2 separate regions of the Homo sapiens genome follow, and region 2 is linked to region 1. The links are contacts of gene promoters, found by promoter capture Hi-C in human tissues and cell types (Jung and others, 2019). All regions are on one chromosome and are shown on one strand. The core of a region is centred on a gene start or on the middle of the fragment in contact, and the rest is flanking DNA. Distances in the headings are between cores, read along the strand shown. Region 1 holds the start of SRSF7 (serine and arginine rich splicing factor 7). Region 2 has its middle 17 kb from the start of PIRAT1.

Region 1 (5,724 bases), core at 1,333-3,832:
TCCCAAAGTGCAGAGATTACCGGCATGAGCCACAAAACCTGACTTAGACTTTGTATTCAGAGTCAAAAAAAGTTTATTGGAAAAAAAAAAGTTTATTGAGGTTTATTAGGAATTATACAGTATAACATGCACTGTCTTTCAAGCAGTTATCTATGCTTGGCTCAACAGTAATTTTCTTTTTTTTTGAGTCGGAGTTTTGCTCTTTTGTTTTGGAGATGGAGTTTCACTCTTGTTGCCCAGGCTGGAGTGCAATGGCGCAATCTCGGCTCCCTGCAACCTCCACCTCCCGGGTTCAAGCAATTCTCCTGCCTCAGCCTCCCAAGTAGCTGGGATTACAGGTGCGCACCACCACGCCTGGCTAATTTTTTGTATTTTTAGTAGAGACGGGGGTTTCACCATGGCCAGGCTGGTCTTGAACTTCTGACCTTAGGTGATCCGCCCGCCTCGGCCTCCCAGAGTGCTGGGATTACAGATGTGAGTCACAGCGCCCGGCCTAGGAGTTTTGCTCTTGTTGCTCAGGCTGTAGTGCAATGGCAAGATCTCAGCTCACCACAACCTCCACCTCTCAGGTTCAAGCGATTCTCCTGCCTCAGCCTCCCGAGTAGCTGGGATTACAGGCATGCGCCACCACGCCCAGCTAATTTTGTATTTTTAGTAGAGACGGGGTTCCTCCATGTTGGTCAGGCTGGTCTCGAACTCCTGACCTCAGGTGATCCGCCAGCTTCAGCCTCCCAAAGTGCTGGGATTACAGGCATGAGCCACTGCGCGCGGCCTCAACAGTAATTTTCATAGCTTCTTAACAGAAGAAAGTCAACTTAGTGAGGCTTTACAGAATTTATATTTTATCTTTCAGATACCATATAATCTTTTTTTTTGAGATGGAGTCTTGCTCTGTCGCCCAGGCTGGAGTGCAGTGGCACGATCTCAGCTCACTGCAACCTCCGCCTCCTGGGTTCAAGCAGTTCTCCTGCCTCAGCCTCCGGAGTAGCTGGGACTACAGGCACACGCCACCACGCCAGGCTAATTTTTTGTATTTTAGTAGGGACAGGGTTTTACTGTGTTGCCCAGGCTGGTCTCAAACTCCTGAGCTCAGGCAATCCGCCCGCCTCGGCCTCCCAAAGTGCTGGCATTACAGGCGTGAGCCACTGCGCCTGGCCCCTATATAGTCTTTATAATTATTGTTTAATTCTTTTGAGAAGAACCTATAGATCTTTATAATTATTGTTTCTTTTGAGAAGAACCTTGTTAAGAAAAAAATCACCAAGACTAAGGGAGAACACATATACTCTACAGAGCTTCTATTTTCTTCTTAGAGATCTTCCTGAGAGAGATTAATTCTCTCCATAACTTAATCAACGTAAAAAATATGCATAAAATCATAGCATGACCTGGAAAGAATCCATGCTTTATTCACCAACTAGGCCTGCTTTCCCTGTACTCTCCATTCCACACCTATACTCACCAAATGAAGTTGCAAAAGACGAAAAAGATAAAAATGCAAATACCTAAATGTCTTTTTTTATGTACATTTCCAACTTTTGTGTATTCCAAGAATTTACGATGTAATGTCTATGTTTCTAGCAAAAAAGAACTTTTTCTCTATTTGTAGTTGGTGTCTAGAGCAATTCTAATGTAAAGAAGTTTTGCATTTATTTGGTACTGTTGAGTGGCTGAGCAGCAAGGCTGCTATTTCCACTGAGTGGAGATACACAAAGATGACTTAGGAGTCCCAGTCCTCAGGATCGGAGTATTGGTGGATCACACGTGTTACAAAGCAGAAAGCATTAGGAAAAGCAAATCAGTTACTTTGAGCTTCAGATGCAAATAATTTCCAAATTGTCACTGGCCAAAATGCTTTAAACATTCAGGGTTTTGTCACAATTTCAATATAAAGGGGGGAGGGGGGAGCGGGACCCCACAGCTCTATTCCTTTGTCTTTCAGACTCCAAGAACTCAGACCGTGGTGGTGCAAACTGGTGACTGGTTCAAAAGAAGTTGGAGGGGGCGTGTAGGACAGGAGGCTTTACCACCAGTCCCAGGGTGCGTCAAGGTCTATGGTGTAAAAACCACTACTCAGAATGGCGGGGTTCATGGACTTTTCACCATGGCCAAACCTTCGATTACCTCTGATGAGCCCCAAAGATCAGAGTAGCTGACTAGGCCAGGTCCCCCAGCAGAAGGGCGCGACGGCTGCAACATCAGCGGTTAAATTGTACAGCCTTTCATAGGCCGGTCTAATGCATCCGTACTAAGATTGTTAAGGCTGAGGGTCCCTAGCCTGGGGAAAAACGAAAGGAGGCAGAGGGTAGGGAGACGGGAAAGAAGACAAGGAGGGTGTAGAAAACGGGGAGAGGAGGGGGCGGGACAGCATGGGGAAGGCCTCAGGTTTACTGGAGAGATCGTGGCGTTCCCATAGAAACGTATCCCTCCGCCCATGACCCGCGTGTTAGTCTCTTCAGTTCCTTCCGCGTCGTTTCTTGGCTGTTTCCGCCCAGCTCCTTTGTGCCGCGCAGAACAACGAGATGACGCATGCGCAAAGCGCAGCGGCCGCATATATAAACGCGAACCCGGGCTCTTCCTCGTAGTGCCGCCGGGACTCTTGGCGGGTGAAGGTGTGTGTCAGCTTTTGCGTCACTCGAGCCCTGGGCGCTGCTTGCTAAAGAGCCGAGCACGCGGGTCTGTCATCATGTCGCGTTACGGGCGGTACGGAGGAGGTAAGAAGCTGGAGTCCGGTGAGGGACGTTGGTGTGGGTGTAGTGAGCACTGCGAGGCCGTAGGGTTGTCGCGGAGGTTGGGAGACGGTTATTCCGCGTGCGTAATGGCGGCTTAGGAGCACGCCAGACGAAGCCGGAGGCAGCGGAGGCGGGGTGCTGAAGGGAGACGGGATGGCGGGTGTACATCTCTGCCGAGTTCCGTACTCTTGGGCATTTTTGTGGCCCAATCCAGCCTAAAGCAGGGTTGAGATGACGGTTTTCGCGTTGCCTTTCTCGGAGCTGCCCGCCGGCCCCCCTCCCCCCCCGCCCTCGGCGGCGGCTGCCATTTTGCGCACATTGAGGACCGTGGTGGCGCATTTCCTCAGCGCTTTCCCGCCACTTCAGCGGACAGATCTGGCCGCAGCTGTAAGATCGTGGTTGTGTTTGAGATAGAACGAAATTGGCAGCTGTGAGCTGCATGTTCTCGTCAAACAATCGGTTAAATTGCGGAATGGGAATGGGGACGTAATCTGCGACTGGCGGCTGGGTTTTTTTTAGTTATTTCCAGCGCGGTTTATGGCTCTGGGGCGGGGAGCTGGAGTCTTGGGCGAGCCTGTGCCTGGGACGTTTGCCGCGGAGGACGAGAGCCGGCGCAGCCCTGCTCTCCTGGCCCGGCCCCTACCGAGGCCCTCCCGCCGCCGACGCCGCTGCCGCTGCGGGCCCGCGCGCTCCCGGTGCGCCCGGGGCTGCCGGGACTCATGGGTGGGGCCGGGCCAGGTTCCGCCCCACGCCTCGGTGTATCCTACCACGCGTTTCTGCTTGTGTTCGGGAGGGTCACCCCGCATTATTTAGAACGTTAAGAATTTTGTCAAAAGTCTAGTTTCTCAGGGATTTGCGGACTTTCACCAGTTTTACGACTAAGTTTTGTCTTGGATAGAGGGCATTAAATGTGCTTTACCCAATCTTGAGGATGGCCCGTTTTAAGGCAAATAAGTAATTGAAACTTGGGCCAGATTTTGCGTAACGTGCATTCTTCTATTTGCGTTTTTAAACAGAAACCAAGGTGTATGTTGGTAACCTGGGAACTGGCGCTGGCAAAGGAGAGTTAGAAAGGGCTTTCAGTTATTATGGTCCTTTAAGAACTGTATGGATTGCGAGAAATCCTCCAGGATTTGCCTTTGTGGAATTCGAAGATCCTAGAGATGCAGAAGATGCAGTACGAGGACTGGATGGAAAGTAAGTAAGATGTTATGAATCTTCTGTTCATTAAAATATACTGTGGCTAGATAATGAACTTAGTGCTAAATTTGGATTCTGAAGTCTGGAAGAGACCTTAAATAGCTGGTCATAGTGTTAAATGCTAAAGGCACACGAAGGTTAAAGAAGATAGCGGAGATGGAGTTAGGGCTTGGTAAAGACCGCCAAAGTTTGTTGGGGGGGAAGGAGTGGTTGGAAAGAGTGAGTGGTTGGAAAGAGTTCTTTTTAAATCTATAAGTCCTGAATATATTTTTAACTTTAGAATTTTGTTAATTTGCTTTTATTAGGGTGATTTGTGGCTCCCGAGTGAGGGTTGAACTATCGACAGGCATGCCTCGGAGATCACGTTTTGATAGACCACCTGCCCGACGTCCCTTTGATCCAAATGATAGATGCTATGAGTGTGGCGAAAAGGGACATTATGCTTATGATTGTCATCGTTACAGCCGGCGAAGAAGAAGCAGGTATTTATTTTAATAAAGGAATGGTTGGTATTCTAGTTAATCAAGTAATTCTTTTATTAGCAAGGCAGAAACTAGTGTTTTTCTATAAACTTGAATGTTAATTGTACAGGTGTATTTTACAATTTTTGTTTAATTAAAAAAATGTTACTATATTAATAATCAACCTGGTCAAAACCTTTCAGGTTTCTTCGTTTGAGTCAGTCGCCTTGATTCAGAATGTCACGAGCCTTATGATATCATGCTGAGGCGCCTTGCAAATCCGACAATTAAGATCCTCCTAGACCTTGAGGTGATCAGCATAAGAGGCCAGATCCCCTCGAGTCATCTACACCTAGCTTCACCTTATTCTTTAAAGGGCAGAAAATTTGAGACGGTGATCGCCGTAACAGTAAATTTGGCTTACAATTGGGGCCCCCCTCCGGTTTAGAAAGAGGAACACCAGATTGACCACATTCCCAACTAGAAAAATCTTCTTGCGTCAATCAAGCCTCACCTGGCTCATTTGGCTGTCAGTTTGATCGTCGTTAGATTGAAGAAAACATCTAGATGCAGCGATCGGCTATAGATACTTCTAGATCGTCTAGATCTACTAGACCATGGGCCAAAGAGGGTCGACCTGCAAACTTGCAAGGTTTATTTTAAATACACATTACAGTGTTTTATATTATGTAATGCTAAGTTGTAATTCAGCTTTTAACAAATCTTTTTTTAGGTAGTAAAAAAAAAAATACTCAACAACTAATAGGCCCAGAGTTTATTTCCAAATGAGACACTAAATTTAAATAGTTTTGAGATTTGATTTCAGCAGAGGCACACAAACTCTTAAAAACGAGTTATTGTCTGACATTTTGTTTTTTCTCTAACTTGAAAAATAGGTCACGGTCTAGATCACATTCTCGATCCAGAGGAAGGCGATACTCTCGCTCACGCAGCAGGAGCAGGGGACGAAGGTGAGATCTTGTTTAACTGAAGTCTTTCTGTATTATTATTAAATTCACTGGTAGTCCAACACAGAAAAAGCTCATTATTTTTTTTGGAGACAGGGTCTTGCTCTGTCACCCGGGCTGGAGTACAGGGGCATAACCACGACTCACTGCTGCCTTGATGATCTCTTGGGTTTAAGCAGTTCTCCTACCTCAGCCTCCCGAGTAGCTGGGACTGTAGGCACTGCCACCATACCCAGCTAATTTTTATTTTTGTAGAAATGGTCTTGCACTGTTTCCCAGGCTGGTCTCAAGCTCCTGGGCTCAAACGATCCTCCCGCAGTGCTGGGATTATGGGCATGAGCCACTGCACCGTTCCCCAGTTGA
Region 2 (5,434 bases), core at 448-2,947, 860 kb after region 1:
GCGCCATTTTGGCTCACTGCAGCCTCCGCCTCGTGGGTTCCAGGGATTCTTGTGCCTTAGCCTCCCCATAGCTGGGACTACAGTCACACACTACCATGCCCAGCTAATTTTTGTAATTCTAGTAGAGATAGGGTTTCATGATTTTGGCCAGGCTGGTCTTGAACTCTTGGCCTCAAATGATCCACCTGCCTCTGCCTCCCAAAGTGCTGGGATTACAGGCATTAGCCACCACACCCGGCCTACTTGCAGATTTTAAAATCTCTGTTGGGTAAGGGCTCAGTCAAATCTGGGACTCTTCCCCTGCCTGCTCACTTTCTCTGCTGTTCCTGGGGGTGTGCTAAGCTCTTAAGCTCTTGGGGAGGCTCATCCACCATGTGGCCATGCTCTGTTCCCATTTACTTCCCATGATAGGAGTTTGTTTCTGGCTTCCAGCCCTCACCTTCGCCTCTGTCTTTGGGTTCATGCTCTGGCTTTTGCTACAGATGTCTGTGGTCATTTCCACGGCCTTTAGTTTCAAGGTCTAGCATTTTGTTCCTTTTTTGGCCCAACCACAAGCTTTCTCTGGTCTCTGGCCCTCTTAGCACTTCTGCTTCCCTAGCTCCCAACTCCATCCTGGAGGGTTTCAGGAGCTCTTGCTTGCTTTTCTACCTAGGCGACTACTGAGAACCATCTGAGATGGACAAGCCTATTTGTAAAAATAATGGTGACACAGTTAGGCATAAATATCTAACAAGAAACTACCTGCCCACTGGCTCTTGCAAAATCCCTAATTTACTTTGACAAAGTTGCGTGAAAGTTGTGATCTTGATAGAAGAAAATAAGAAACAAGTATTGCTTCTAACAGTTCAAATACTGCTCTGGGAAAGCAGGAAGAATTGGATTCTCTTTTCTTAGACAAGGGAACAGAATGTCAAAGATAATATAGTGTTGCCTTGGGAAAAAATGTTGGCTTTCAGGGTTTTTCCCTTCTGGGAGTCTGAGTGGCCTTTGAGGATTTGATACTAGGGGCTGAGCCAGTGTTGATTCCTGTACCAGCGAGCTTTGTGTATAACACATGCAGCTTCTAAAATGAAGAGCTGCCAATTACTAACCACCCCACACTGAATCAGTGCCATCGGGGCCTGCTCGGTGTGTGGGCTGTGTATCTAAACTGCAGTTTCTAGTTGTTTTTTTTTTGTCTTGTTTTTCATTTTTTAAATGGAAATAAAAAGCTGACAGATACAGTTTCATTACAATTTTCAAATGCTCTTTCGTACCAGTTAAAGGAGAGTTTTGAATGGTGATGGGCTACATGTTTACATACACACAATTTTGAAAGTTAAAATGTCAGTTAAAAGGAGTTTTGCATGGATACAAAGTTATCCAGTATGGGGGTGGCATTGAGGGTTGTTTTCTCCTTGGGCTGTCTTGATGGAGGAAAGCTGGTTGGAAAGGCTGAGTTGCTGTTTTGGCCTCTGACAGTGATTTACTTTGTAACCTCAAGTAAGTCATCCTCTGGTATCTGAGTTTTAGATAAGTCAAGAACCTACCCTTGAAGTGGTATCGAGGGATAAATCAGACTGTCTGAATGACTGGACTGGAGCTTCTCAGAAGCGCAGTGCAAATCTGAGTTTCTAGTGTGCGGGCGAACCTGATGTTGAAACATCGGAGCTGGAAGAGGGCTCTTACCCATCCAGCCCAGCTTTCGCATTTGGCAGATGAGGAACCCAGGGAGGGGAAAATGACTTACAAAGATCACGTAGCCAATGAGTGTGGAGCTGGGGCCATAATCCAGTCCTTATGTGATTACTGTGAAGTTATCCTTTTCCCCCAACATCTACTTATGAATAAAGAGTTTATTAAGTGGTTAACTGCAAGGCAAGATTGCTCACAGTACTCTCAATGACACTCCAGGCTCAATGGCCTAGAGGACATAGAACAGAAGGAGGATTTAAGGAAACTTCTCCAATAAATCAGGCAAAATTTGCTTTGAGTGTGAATTCTAATCAATGCCATCATTTGTAGGAATGGGCCATGTCAGCAGCCCAGGGGTTGCTAACTTCAAGTAGGAGGTAGCCTTACGCAGATACTTGACTTGGGAGGACAGGAGGAAGAAAGCATTGAATAAACAAAGCAGGACTGAGGGTAGGAGTAGAGGCCTTCTAGGGATGCTGAACTTGTGCACAGAGAACTTCCTAACAGAGCACTACCTGCCTCTTCCTCCTACCCACCCCTGGGTTGCTTTTATAGGGGAGGAAAGCAAATCTTGTCCCTCTAGCCATCTTAGGTTCTCCCACTGAGGCCCTGTATATTAGACTAACAAAAAAGCACCTTCACCAGAGAAACACAAACAGAAGTTTATTAGCATGTGTCACACATACACATGGAGGTACCTAGAGATGAGTAACTCAAAGGGATTGTTAGAACTTGGGCTTATATAACATCTTAACAAAAAAACCCAATACTTTTGTAGAGAATTAACAAGAGAAAGGAAAAGCACTCTGGACTTCATGGGGTAGCAAGTTGTGGGAAGATAAATGGGAAACTCATGGACGGTAAGGGCTGGTTGGTCAAGTTTGTTCCTCTGGTCTAGTGTGTGGGATATAGGATCTACGGTTGTCTCAGGGGACCAAGAACTGTCCTGCCCTTCCTGGAAGAAAAAAGGAGAGCAGAGTTTTTCTTCTGTCCACTTCTTAATTATCATCAGCTCAGAATAATCCTTACGTCTGTTAAAGCAAACTAAATATGGCCTGAGAAGGACTCTGTACTTCTATATTTGAGTCCTTGTGGATGAACTGCAACCTAGCTTAACTGGTAGACGAGACTGAAAACCTAACTAGGAGTATGCACCTGTAACAGTCACTGAGTCTTGGCCAATCCCAGCAGCCATACTTCAACCACTCATACACTGCTGAGTGTTCAACTTGTGTTCAAATAAGGCAAACGCCAAGCTGTAGCTAGTCAGGCTGTTTCTCACTTCCTATTTCTATATGTCACTTTACTTTTTTTTTGTCTATAAATTTGTTCTGACCACAAGGCACTCCTGGAGTCTCTCTGAGTTGGCTGCCCAATTTGTGAATTGTTCATTGCTCAATTAAACTCCCTTAAATTTAATTCTGCTGAAGTGGTTTTTTTTTTTTTTTTAACACGCCAAAGTGGCATATTTTGGGGTGGCATAATCTGCCACACCCTTCCTTCCTCCTGAAGAGTTTCTTTGAGGAATTCAACCACTACATTTGAAGCATGCAACTATGGCAAACCTAATTAGAAAAAGTTGTGCTGATTCAGGAAGCCCCAGTCCCCGACTGAGTGACAGTAGATAGATGTGGGTAAAACAGTATCTTATTCTTGGCAGCTGAAAGTAAGTGAGAGGAAAGGGGTGGTGGAGGAGAGGAAGCCAGCAGGAGAATAGAAGAGAAAGTGGAGTGCACGCTCCTGACTGAGCAGGTCCCGTAGTCGACTTGATTGACAGGATGAGACTGAGGAGAGGCAGTGTGATCTCTGGGCGGGAGGTCAGAGCCTCTAGGCCAGAATCATGGTGGAGTTCGAAGAAGAAGAATGAAGTTTGAATGAAGTCCAACTTCATTCCCTAGAGAATTCCCAGGGACCTGGCTGTTCAGAAAGGAGCCTTGGGCAACCGATGGTGCCAGGGCTCCAGATGATTCCACCCCTGAGATAGAGTCCTTTGAGTCCTACAAAGTCTGGACTTCATAACGAATAATGACGGTGTCTGTTAAGTGCTTCCTAGTTATGAAATGTGATAAGCATTTTAAAAATGCAGTGTCTCATTTGATAATCACAACAATCTGTGAGTTAAATATCATTAGCCCATTTTACAGATGAGGGAGTTGAGGTTTAGAGATGTAAAAATAAGTGGCCCAAGCCCACCCAACATATAAGCAAACAGAGATTCCAATGAAATTATCATTCCAAATTCATATTTTTAATCATTATACTGCACTGCCTTCCCTTGGGTGGGTTATGACTTTCTGGGGAGGAGCCTTTCTGGAGGTCAGTAGCCACATGTTATAGCAGGGTCTAAATTTAGGATTCACACGGCGTCTGAGCTGCGGACAGAGGTAAGGCGAGTGAGTGGGGACTCTACATACTTGGAATCTGCCCCTGAGACCTGGTCTAGGCTCTTCTTTGAGTGATACCAATTGCCTGTTTTGTTTTTTTTTCTCTGAGTAAACCTGACCATTTCAAGCTCATTGTCAGGATTAGAAACCCTGACAGATCGAGGAAGAGAAAGCGAAATGGAATAGAAAGGAGAATGGGGGTGAGAAAGCAGTAGGTACTGAGTGTGTCCAACTGGGTCCTGGTCTTAAGCGTTCATCTGTCTCACAACAGCCCTGGTGTTGTGGAATCGAAGGACAGAATAAGATCGTCCAGCAGAGACCAGGACCAGAGATCTGGTTAGACCATACATATTTGTTTAGGCAGAAATGAAGACCAGATAATGTAGGGAAGGTGTGTGTGCATGACAGGTGTGGGTGGGAAGGCGAACCCAGAGAAAGGGGATCCCTGTGGGTGGTGGGGACCAAGCACACGAGGGTTTGGAGCAGCCAGGAGGGGTCTATGGATCCATAGGACTTCAACAAAAATAACAGACAAGCTAGTGGGTTCTAGGTGTCATGTTTTGGCATCTAGCTCAACTATGCAGGTCCTCGGAGCCACCACAAAATCCAGACAGACCCCTGATCCCAGAACACATTCTGTCTACTCCCTGGCGCTTGGCTGTCAGACTCTGCCCAGTTTGGGTAGAAAAACCGGCCACAAGAGGGCAGTAGGAAGCCACCGACGCTGGCGGATCTGCAGAGGGCTGGGTGCTCTGGGATGGACCAATAGGTTCAGATAGAAAATGACCTGGGAAAAAATGACCACAGCACCCCTGAGTGCCCCTGGACACTGCTGCCTCAGCCCCACCCTGGACATTCTGATTCTGTAGCCTGGGTAGGGGCTGGCAGTCTGAATTTTTAACACACAGCCCATGTGATATGGGAACTGCTCCCCCCAAGTATGCAGAATCTTCCATTGCACTTCCTTAAACCAAGATGACAAATAGGATTATTAGGAGAATAATATCTGTTAAAATGTTTTATTGGGAACATAGATAATATGACAGTGCATATATAAAATATATGCACATTTCAAAGAAGAATAAACACTGTGAATAGCTGTGCAAACACCTCTTAGGTTAAAAAACAGAATGTCACCAGCATCCCTGTGCACCCCTCCCATCTCATATCCCTTCCTCTCCCCATAGGTAACCTTGAGACTCTCCCATGTGGATTCACGTGTGTGAAGATAAGTGCCTTGTATGAACAACTTACGTACTCTTATCTCTTATATTGATGGACATTTAGGTTTTTCGGTTTTTTGTTTGTTTCTTTTTTCCTGTTAGGGACAATGTTGCTATGGACAGTCTTGCACCTGGAGAATTTTTCAAGAGATT

The links. Contacts are between HindIII fragments. The study calls those that stand out against the background at their distance.
Region 2: a fragment that was not itself captured here is called in contact with the fragment with the promoter of SRSF7 in region 1 in 1 of the 25 tissues and cell types used here (hippocampus).

The regions. Positions count from the first base shown.
Region 1 is chr2:38,748,219-38,753,942 of GRCh38, reverse strand. It overlaps SRSF7 (serine and arginine rich splicing factor 7), which reads left to right and starts at 2,582. Exons shown (of 8, transcript NM_001031684.3): 1 at 2,582-2,714; 2 at 3,749-3,929; 3 at 4,238-4,414; 4 at 5,290-5,364. The coding sequence starts at 2,687. RefSeq lists an enhancer at 2,078-2,137 and silencers at 2,998-3,097, 3,308-3,497. The HindIII fragment of the contact is 20,463 bases long and covers 1-5,724 here.
Region 2 is chr2:37,890,445-37,895,878 of GRCh38, reverse strand. No RefSeq gene overlaps it. Among named protein-coding and RNA genes, the nearest start is that of PIRAT1, 17 kb to the right of the region's middle. The HindIII fragment of the contact is 6,104 bases long and covers 1-4,749 here.